Regions from separate parts of the Homo sapiens genome. Here region 1 is linked to region 2. The links are contacts of gene promoters, found by promoter capture Hi-C in blood cells and fetal thymus (Javierre and others, 2016). All regions are on one chromosome and are shown on one strand. The core of a region is centred on a gene start or on the middle of the fragment in contact, and the rest is flanking DNA. Distances in the headings are between cores, read along the strand shown. Region 1 has its middle 340 kb from the start of GRM7-AS1. Region 2 holds the start of EDEM1 (ER degradation enhancing alpha-mannosidase like protein 1).

The links. Contacts are between HindIII fragments. The CHiCAGO score rates a contact against its expected background, and 5 or more counts as called.
Region 1: a fragment that was not itself captured here is called in contact with the fragment with the promoter of EDEM1 in region 2 in 1 of 17 cell types (non-activated CD4 T cells); the score reaches 5.4 in non-activated CD4 T cells.

Annotation. Positions count from the first base shown.
Region 1 is chr3:7,876,617-7,880,479 of GRCh38, reverse strand. No RefSeq gene overlaps it. Among named protein-coding and RNA genes, the nearest start is that of GRM7-AS1, 340 kb to the right of the region's middle. The HindIII fragment of the contact is 4,204 bases long and covers 483-3,863 here.
Region 2 is chr3:5,184,781-5,189,204 of GRCh38, reverse strand. EDEM1 (ER degradation enhancing alpha-mannosidase like protein 1) reads right to left here and starts at 1,498. Exons shown (of 12, transcript NM_014674.3): 1 at 891-1,498. The coding sequence starts at 1,399. RefSeq lists enhancers at 510-559, 2,981-3,040 and silencers at 710-999, 1,050-1,219, 1,460-1,869. The HindIII fragment of the contact is 7,598 bases long and covers 1-2,708 here.

The DNA.
Region 1 (3,863 bases), core at 1,335-3,834, 2.7 Mb before region 2:
TTTGCTTTTATTGTTTGTTATTGGTTTAAAATCTGTCCTGTCTGAAATTAGAAACCTCTGTTTTTTTCTGGTTTTCATTGGCTTGGTAGATTTTTCTCCATCCCTTTAGTTTGAGCCTATGGCTGTCATTGCAAGTGAGATGGGTTTCTTGTAGACCGCACATGGTTGTGTCTTGCTTCTTTATCCAACTTTCCATTATGTGACTTTTAATTAGGACATTTAACCCATTTACATTCAAAGTTAATATTGTGTAGGTGTGAATCTGTCATTGTGTTGTTAGCTGGTTATTCTGCAGAATTGATTGTGTGGTTACTTTATAGTATCAATGGTCTATGTACTTAAGTGTGTTTTTGTGGTGGCTGATAATCATCTTTCCTTTCCATATTTAGCACTCCCTTTAGGACCTCTTGTAAGGACAGTCTAGTGGTAATAAATTCTGTATACTTGGCTGAAAAGGATCATGTTTCTTTGTTTTTGAAGCTTAGTTTGGCTGAATATGAAATGCTTGGTTGGAATTTCTTTTCTTTAATAATGCTGAATATAGGCCCCAATCTCTTCTGGCTTATAGGGTTTTTGCTGAAAGGTCCACTGTTAGCCTCATGAGGTTTCTTTTGTAGATGACATGCCCTTTGTCTCTAGCTGCCTTTAACATTTTTTCTTTCATTTCGACTTAGAGAATCTGATGACTGTATGTCTTGGGGATGGTTACCTTATATAGTACCACACAGGGATTCTTTGCATTTTCTAGATTTGAGTGTTGGCTTCTCTAGCAAGGTTGGGGAAATTTTGGGAGATGATATCCTCAAATATGTTTTGCAAGTTGTTTGCTTTCTCTCTCTCTCTTTCAGGGATGCCAGTGTGTCATAGATTTGGTCTCTTCACCTAATCTCATATTTCTTGGTGGATTTATTCATTCCTTATTTTTTATTTTTGTCTGAGTCATTTCAGAGAACCAATCTTTAAGCTCTAAGATTCTTTCCTCAGATTGGTGGTTCTGTTGTTAATACTGCAGTTGTATTATGCAATTCTTAAGTGAGTTTTTCAGCTCTGTCAGATCAGTTTCTTTTTGTTCTTAAAATGACTATTTCATCTTTTATCTTTTGCATTGTTTTATGGTATTCCTTAGATTCCTTGCATTGGGTTTTGATTTTCTCCAGAATGTCGATCTTTATTCCTATTCATATTCTGAATTCTATTTCTGACATTTCAGCCATTTCAGTCTGAGTAAGAACCATTTTTGGTGAAGTAGTACAATAATTTGGAGGTCAGAAGACACTCTGGCTTTTTGAGTTGCCAGAGCTCTTGTGCTGGTTTACTCTTATCTGTGTAGGGCTGATGTTCCTTCAGTCTTTGAAATTGCTTTCCTATGAATGGATCTTGCTTTTATCTTCTTTCGTGCCCTTGGGGGTTTGATTATGATATAAGGTGAGTTCAGTCAACTGGCTTCAATTCTAGTCTGTTCCTGGGTCTTGGAGGAGTCCTCTGATTCCTATCTCCAGGCCACTGTTTTCTGTTTTTTTGTTTGTTTATTTGTTTGTTTTGGTGGGAGGGGGGTTGTTCTGGTCCACAGGGCTCCCTCAGGTTAGGGGCCACAGTTGGTAGATGGGCTATATCCTTGCCAGGTCAGTGCTAATCTGTTGTCCAAGTGCTTTCCGGGGAATACAGGGTTGTGCCTGCCCAGAGTTCAGGCAGAAGTAGAATTATGGAAGCTCTAGCAGTTGTAGTTTGCCTGGCTATCAGCGGCAGATGTGGTTGGGGGTTGCCCTCCCTGCTGTCCAGTTGCTTCTTGGGACACAGGAGGCTGCACCCACCTGTTGAGTTCACATAAAATTGGGACCACTAGGCTGGGAGCTCTAGCAGACATTGTCTGCTTGGCTACCAGTGGCAGGGGTAGGTGGCCTCACCCACCCTGCTATCTGAGCATTTCTCAGAGCCACCGGATAAATGTATCATCTGGCAGAATCCACACAGCAGCGGTACCATTAGGCTAGAAGTTCTGGCAAGTTTTGCCTGCCTGGCTACCAGTGTGTAGGGGTCTCCTACCTTGCCACCCAGGAACTTCCTGGGACAACAGGAGCCTGTGGCTGCCAGCTGAGTTCAGGCCAAAGTAGGACAGCTGGGCTGGAAGCTGGCACCAATCTTTTCTGGTAAGGGAATGGGGTGGAGCAATCCTGTTGTTCCCAGGCACTATGATTACAGACTCTAGTGAGGCTGTGTTGCCAGTGCTGGTCTACTCTGGGGCCCAAGGCTTGTAGAGATTTCCTTGAACTTAAGAGTTGCCCTCACAGAATGTCCAGATGGCTCTCTACCCCAGTCTAGAAGGAAGGCTGCAGGAGGGATAGGGGGAATCTCTCATTCCCAGGAGAGGTTCCCAGACAGGTCCCTGTGGAGAGTTCATTCACTCACCCTTTCCTGCTTTTGAGAGGTACTCCCAGCTCTGCACTAAACTAATACAAGCTGGTTTCCAGCCTCACTCCTCTCTGCTCTCTCTGTTCCCCTGCTGCCTTGATGGAACCCGATGTAGTTTCTCAGATGACTGGCCTTGCAGGGCCAATGTTCGCCAGCCCTCTTGTTTCTTCTCTGTGAGAGTGGCATACATAACTGCTTCTAGTTCACCACCTTGGCCTAACCCCCACCTCATCTTTCTCCTTCCCAATTTTTTCTTTCTTTCTTTTTTTTTAATTTTTTTTTCTTTTATGAGATGAAGTCAGACTGTCACCCAGGCTGGGGTGCAGTGGTACAATCTCAGCTCACTGCAGCCTCTACCTCCTGGGTTCAAACGATTCTCCCACCTCAGTGTTCTTGAGTAGCTGGGAATACAGGTGTGCACCACCACACCCAGCTAATTTTTGTAGTTTTAGTAGAGACGGGGTTTTGCCATGTTTCCCAGGATGGTCTTGAACTTCTGAGCTCAAGAGATCTCCCGACCTCGGCCTCCCAAAGTACCGGGACTGCAGGTATGAGTCACTATGCCCAGCCCTTCCTTTCCAAACTTCATAGAAATGACCTATCCCTAGTAAGCTGTTTACAGATAGAAATAACAGCTCTCAGCATTATTAACAAATTATTTTAAGGTAAACTCCATGAAGGGAGAACAATTAGATGTAAAAATAAAAATGGGCTGTTTGTCTATTTCACCACTATTTTTCCATACTCTTTCTGAATAACTGATAAATTATCTTGCTGTGTTTGAGCATTAGACTTAGACATTTGTGATTAGAAAACCCCTCAACTAGTCATATATAACCAACCCTGAGTTCTGGCATTTTTCACAGGTTACTATTGGCACTTTCATTTTCTTGTGTAAATAAACCCAAGGCAATTAAATGACATCTCCCTCTATCAGCTTAAAACAGGATGAAAGGCATGATTCAATAACTTCCTCCCTATACCCAGGCTCCACACAATTTCCTGTTGCTATTTTGTGAAGAGACTTTGATGTGGTTTGGTTCTATGTTTCCACCCAAATCTCATCTCAAATTGTAATCCCCCACATGTTGAGGGAGGGACCTGGTGGGAGGTGATTAGATGATGGGGGTGGATTTGCCTCGTGCTGTTATCATGACAGTGAATGACTTCTCATGAGATCTGATAGTTTCAAAGTGTGGCACTTCCCCGCTTGCTTTCTCTCTCTCCTGCCACCATGTAAGAAGATGCTTGCTTCTCCTTTGCCTTCTGCCATGATTGTAAGTTTCAGGAAGTCCCTCTAGCCAAGCGGAACTGTGAGTCAATTAAATCTCTTTTCTTTATAAATGACCCAGTCTCAGGTCACTTATAGCAGTGTGAAAACAGACTAATACAGACTTCTTAAACAATCTATTTTTTGTCATTTGTTCACCCACCACCCCATGCATCTTCATAAC
Region 2 (4,424 bases), core at 249-2,748:
TATTTGGACTAACAGGGTCTATGGCAATGCACATTCCTTCCCTACAGGTAAGAGGTCCTTAGCTGGGTGTACTGCCCTCTTGGACTTTGATGTCAACAGTGGTGACCCTTGGAGCTCAGCCTTTGCAAACAAGGCTGGTGAACAGGGAAGACTGCCTGACCTTCCCGGACAACCACGCCACCAGAGGCGGGGGATTTATAGACAGATCGTACAGGGCGATGACGTTGACAGTCAATCTGGCATCCAGTGAATTTCACCTCAAGTATCTGGACCCCAAAAGTGGGCCACATAGCTTCCCTCCCCACCACCTAACTATCCTCAGCCTAAGAAGCAGCCCCTGTGAAGGAGAGGCTGTAACCCCGTTCTGCCTCAAACTCAATGGACGGCTTTGGAGAAGTCAACTATAGGCTTTTTACATAGAAAAGACGTGGGTGTGGCAATGTGATAGAGGTGGGGGTGCGAGGTAAAGGCTTGTTCTGAGGCTGCGTTTACACGGGGGGCATGATGGAGATTTCATTTAGAGTTTATGCTCATCCGGAGGAAGGGGTCGGATGGAAGTGGAAAGCCCTCCAAGCCAGCCCTTGGCACTGCCACTGTCCCTTCTGGTCCTGGACCTCAGTATCCTCACGCGTAAGACACTGAGCTGGACAGCAGTTCTGAAGTTTGGAGATTCCGGGAGAATCAGGAGAGGAAGGCCACCGGCCCACCCCGCACCCTCAAGCTCGGGGGTCTTCACAGGGACTCACACGGGACAGGGCGCGGGAGCGCTGCCCGGGACCCTAACGGCCCTGGCGCCCTCGGGGGCCCCGGAGGACAGAGGGCTGCACCCCGGCGCGGAGGGCGGAAGGAAGCGCGTGGGCGCGCGGCCCCGGGCGGCGGGGGCTACTCACGGGTCCCCGCGGTCGGGCCCACGGCCGCGGCAGTGGATGGGGTTGAGCTCGTCCTGGGGGAAGGCGTGAGCCATGTAGTTGTCGTAGCCAAAGACGAACATGCCCCGTGCCAGGTCGCGCATCTGGGCACGCAGCTGCGGAGGGAAGGCGCCGCTGTAGCGCTTCTCGTACTCGTCCGGGCCGCGGCCCCGGCCGCCCAGCACGTAGCCCCAGTTGGCTGGGCCGCACATCCCCGGCCCAGGACGCCGCGGAGCCTTGCGCGGGCTCTGCGCTGCCCCGGTCCCCGGCGGCTGCAGCCACGACGGCCCGGATACCCCCCCAGGCCGGCCCACGGGCCCCGAGGTGGGCGACGCGGGGCCGTCGGGGCTCCTCAGACGCTGGAAGCCGAAGCTGAGCGGAAAGCGCTGGTAGAAGCCCATGCTGGGCCCCAGCCCGAAGACGAGCCACAATACTCCATGGAGGCCAAGCCGGAGGAGCACCAGCCCCAGGACGAGCGCTCGCCATTGCATGGTCGCGCGGGCGCCGCGGGCATTATTTTAAAGCGCGGGGGCCTCCCCGCCGACCACCGCACCCCGCGCTCGCCCCGTAGCCCGGCTCGCTTCCCCTTTAAGGAACTCCCCCGTGACGCACCAGGAACTAGCCCATCGTCCCCAACCCCCAGGCTCTCCGGCGGGCCGGCCAGGCCCCACGGTCGCCCGCCCAGTGGCCCGGGATTGGCCCGGCCTGGGCCCGGCCTCGCGGGGCGCGGCCCAGGACTCCCTCCCACGCAGTAGGCCGCCAGGACGTCCGCGACGCCCCGAGGCCCCGCCCCTCACCCGGGCCCCGCCCCAACTCCCAAGCCCCGCCCCCCTGGGCGGTCCGTAGCCCGATGGGCTGGCGTGGCGAGCAGGAGCCGCGCCGGCCCGCGAGGGAACTTCCAGCCAATGGGAGAGCGGCACGGCAGCGCCCGCCGGACGCTGGACACAGACGTGACCCCAGACCGCCTGGCCTTGGGTGGATCGGGTCTCTGGGCAGAGCGTGTGTCCGGCAGAGCTAGGACCGGAAAAAGCCACTCTAGGTCTAGGTTAGGAGTGATGACAGTTAAAAGATATATAAGGAAAAGAAGGAAAGGATCGTTTCTGTATAAAACGAGCTATTTTTGCATATCGAGCGCATAAGTTTTATAACTTAGGTGTCTGTTTATGGAGAGGGTGGGATACTACCTTTTAGCTCAAGGAGTGCACAAAACGGTATCATGAATTCTGCTCTTTTGATTCAAACACCCAACTTTGAAGAATCGCTCATGGTGCTTGTAAAACACGTATCCCCAGATCCCTCCCTAGACCTATCGAACAACTCCAACGGTCTCGGGAATGTGCGTGTAAGTACTCTTGGACAGTTCTTAGAAACTGGAAGTTTCAGGAAATACAAAGTTATGTTATATTGCTTTTGTCTCGGAAATAGGATTTTTTTAAAAGGGGGGGGCGGGTTGGGGGTGGGAATGAAGGCTCCCACCACCACCAAATTATTTACCAGATATATCTAAACATGTCTTCTCCTGTCCCTCCCATCCTACCATCTCTCCTGTGCACCCGCAATTAGTGACCTAACCTTTGAGGTGTGGGGTAGATTCCCAGTTAAATAACTTTACCCCTCTGTATCTACTTCCTATAATTAAGAAGATTGCAAATGTTAGCTCTAAAGGGCTATGGCTTTCACATAAAGATTCAATGGTTTAGGCGCTTATTTATTTTGCTTGCTGCATTTGGAGTTGGCTGTAAGTTTTGCCCTCCCTAAGTTTAGACCCTATGCCTGTTTCATCAGGGTTTCTGAAAAGCTTGGGAAGCAAGACCTGACTAGACCCCCAAATCTGATATTGGCTGAATGGCCGACCAATGGAGTGCATAAGAAGGTAAGTTGTCATGTGGCACTCTCATCACATTTTCAGGGTAGAGGACTTTCTGAAATACAGAGGAGGTGTAAGGGGAACTAAGAAAACACTTGATTACAGCACATGGTAGCTGGCACATAGGAAGGTCCTTACTGTTGGCTGAGCCTTGTTCTTTCCCAACATTGAGACATCGAGAGCAGCCCAAGCAGCAAAAAGATTACGAAGACAGCTTGAGCCAGGGTCTTTAGACTACACAGCTTCTGCTTTTTCCCCTCTGTGAAGGATGCCTAGGGACTGTGCTGGCAGCCCAGCTCCAGCCCTTGATCCTGAACTTCTGCCTTCCTGGAACTTGCAAACTGAATGTGAATATTCAGTTGCATGTTGCATGTTTCCTTCCGGGGCTACTTTATTGCAAATTTTAACTTAAATTTGACCTGGTTAACTGCAGGCCACATTGAGGACAGCTTCTGTCTTGATGTTAGAGAAAAACTCTTATAAAAATAAATCTTTTAATAACCAGAGAAAACCATCCAACTCCTGAAAGATGCTTTTCATAGTAAAACTGATGGTTTTCAAAACACTTTGACATGTGTGCTTATTTAATCTTCATAGAAAACTGTAAAGCTTATTCCACAAGCCATAATGGAAGAAATCAGGTTGGGGGCTCAATTCTCAGAGCCTGTTGGCTCTAGGCAGAAAGGGAGTTACTACACTTTAGGGCAATTTGCACTTCAAATAGCTGGCCCTTGAGCAGACAGGTCCCTCTGCTCTTTCCAAGCCACCCAAAAGCAATAGTTTTGACATTAGTGCCCTGCAAGGCATAGCCTAGGCATTAGGGTCTAGGTTCAGAAAGTGTTTCCTTCTGGAATGAAACTGAAATGAAAGAAATGGGTTATTTTGTGCTAGTCCTTTCGATTAGGACTCTCCTTAAGCTAAATGTACTGATAAGATTGGGACAACACCCATACCCAATCAGAAAACTCCAGTCTTGAAAATCAACTCTTTAAGATAAACAGTTTGATTTGTGACAGGTTTTCCGGTAATCTCACAAGCGCATCAGGGACTGATAAAAAAGGAAAGGAGGCACTTTTTCAGTGTAAAAATGGCTTTACTCTGGGGAATGCAAAGAGATGACAACTAAGAACTCACATTCAGAAGTCAGGTGTTCAAATCGTAGCTCTGCCCTAAGAGTGACCTTGGGAAGTTACTTTTCTAGGACTTGTTTCCTCATCCATAAAATGGGTGAGTGATGAGGACAATGTTTATCACAGTTGTGATTACATCATATATATATATAAAGTACTTACAACCGTGCTACATAGTGAGACCTATTAATACTTTTCAACTCTGAAACTTTTAAAACTAGCACCCGGCTGGGCGTGGTGGCTCACACCTGTAATCCCAGAACTTTGGGAGGCCAAGGCAGGCAGATCACTTAAGGTCCGGAGTTCAAGACCAACCTGGCCAAAATGATGAAACCCCATCTCTACTAAAAATACAACTACCCGGGCGTGGTGGTGGGCGTCTGTAATCCCAGATACTCAGGAGGCTGAGGCACGAGAATCACTTGAATCCAGGAGGCAGAGGTTGCAGTGAGCTGAGATAGCGCCACCACACTCCATTCTGGGCAAGAGAGTGAGACTGCGTCTCAAAAAAAAAAAAGT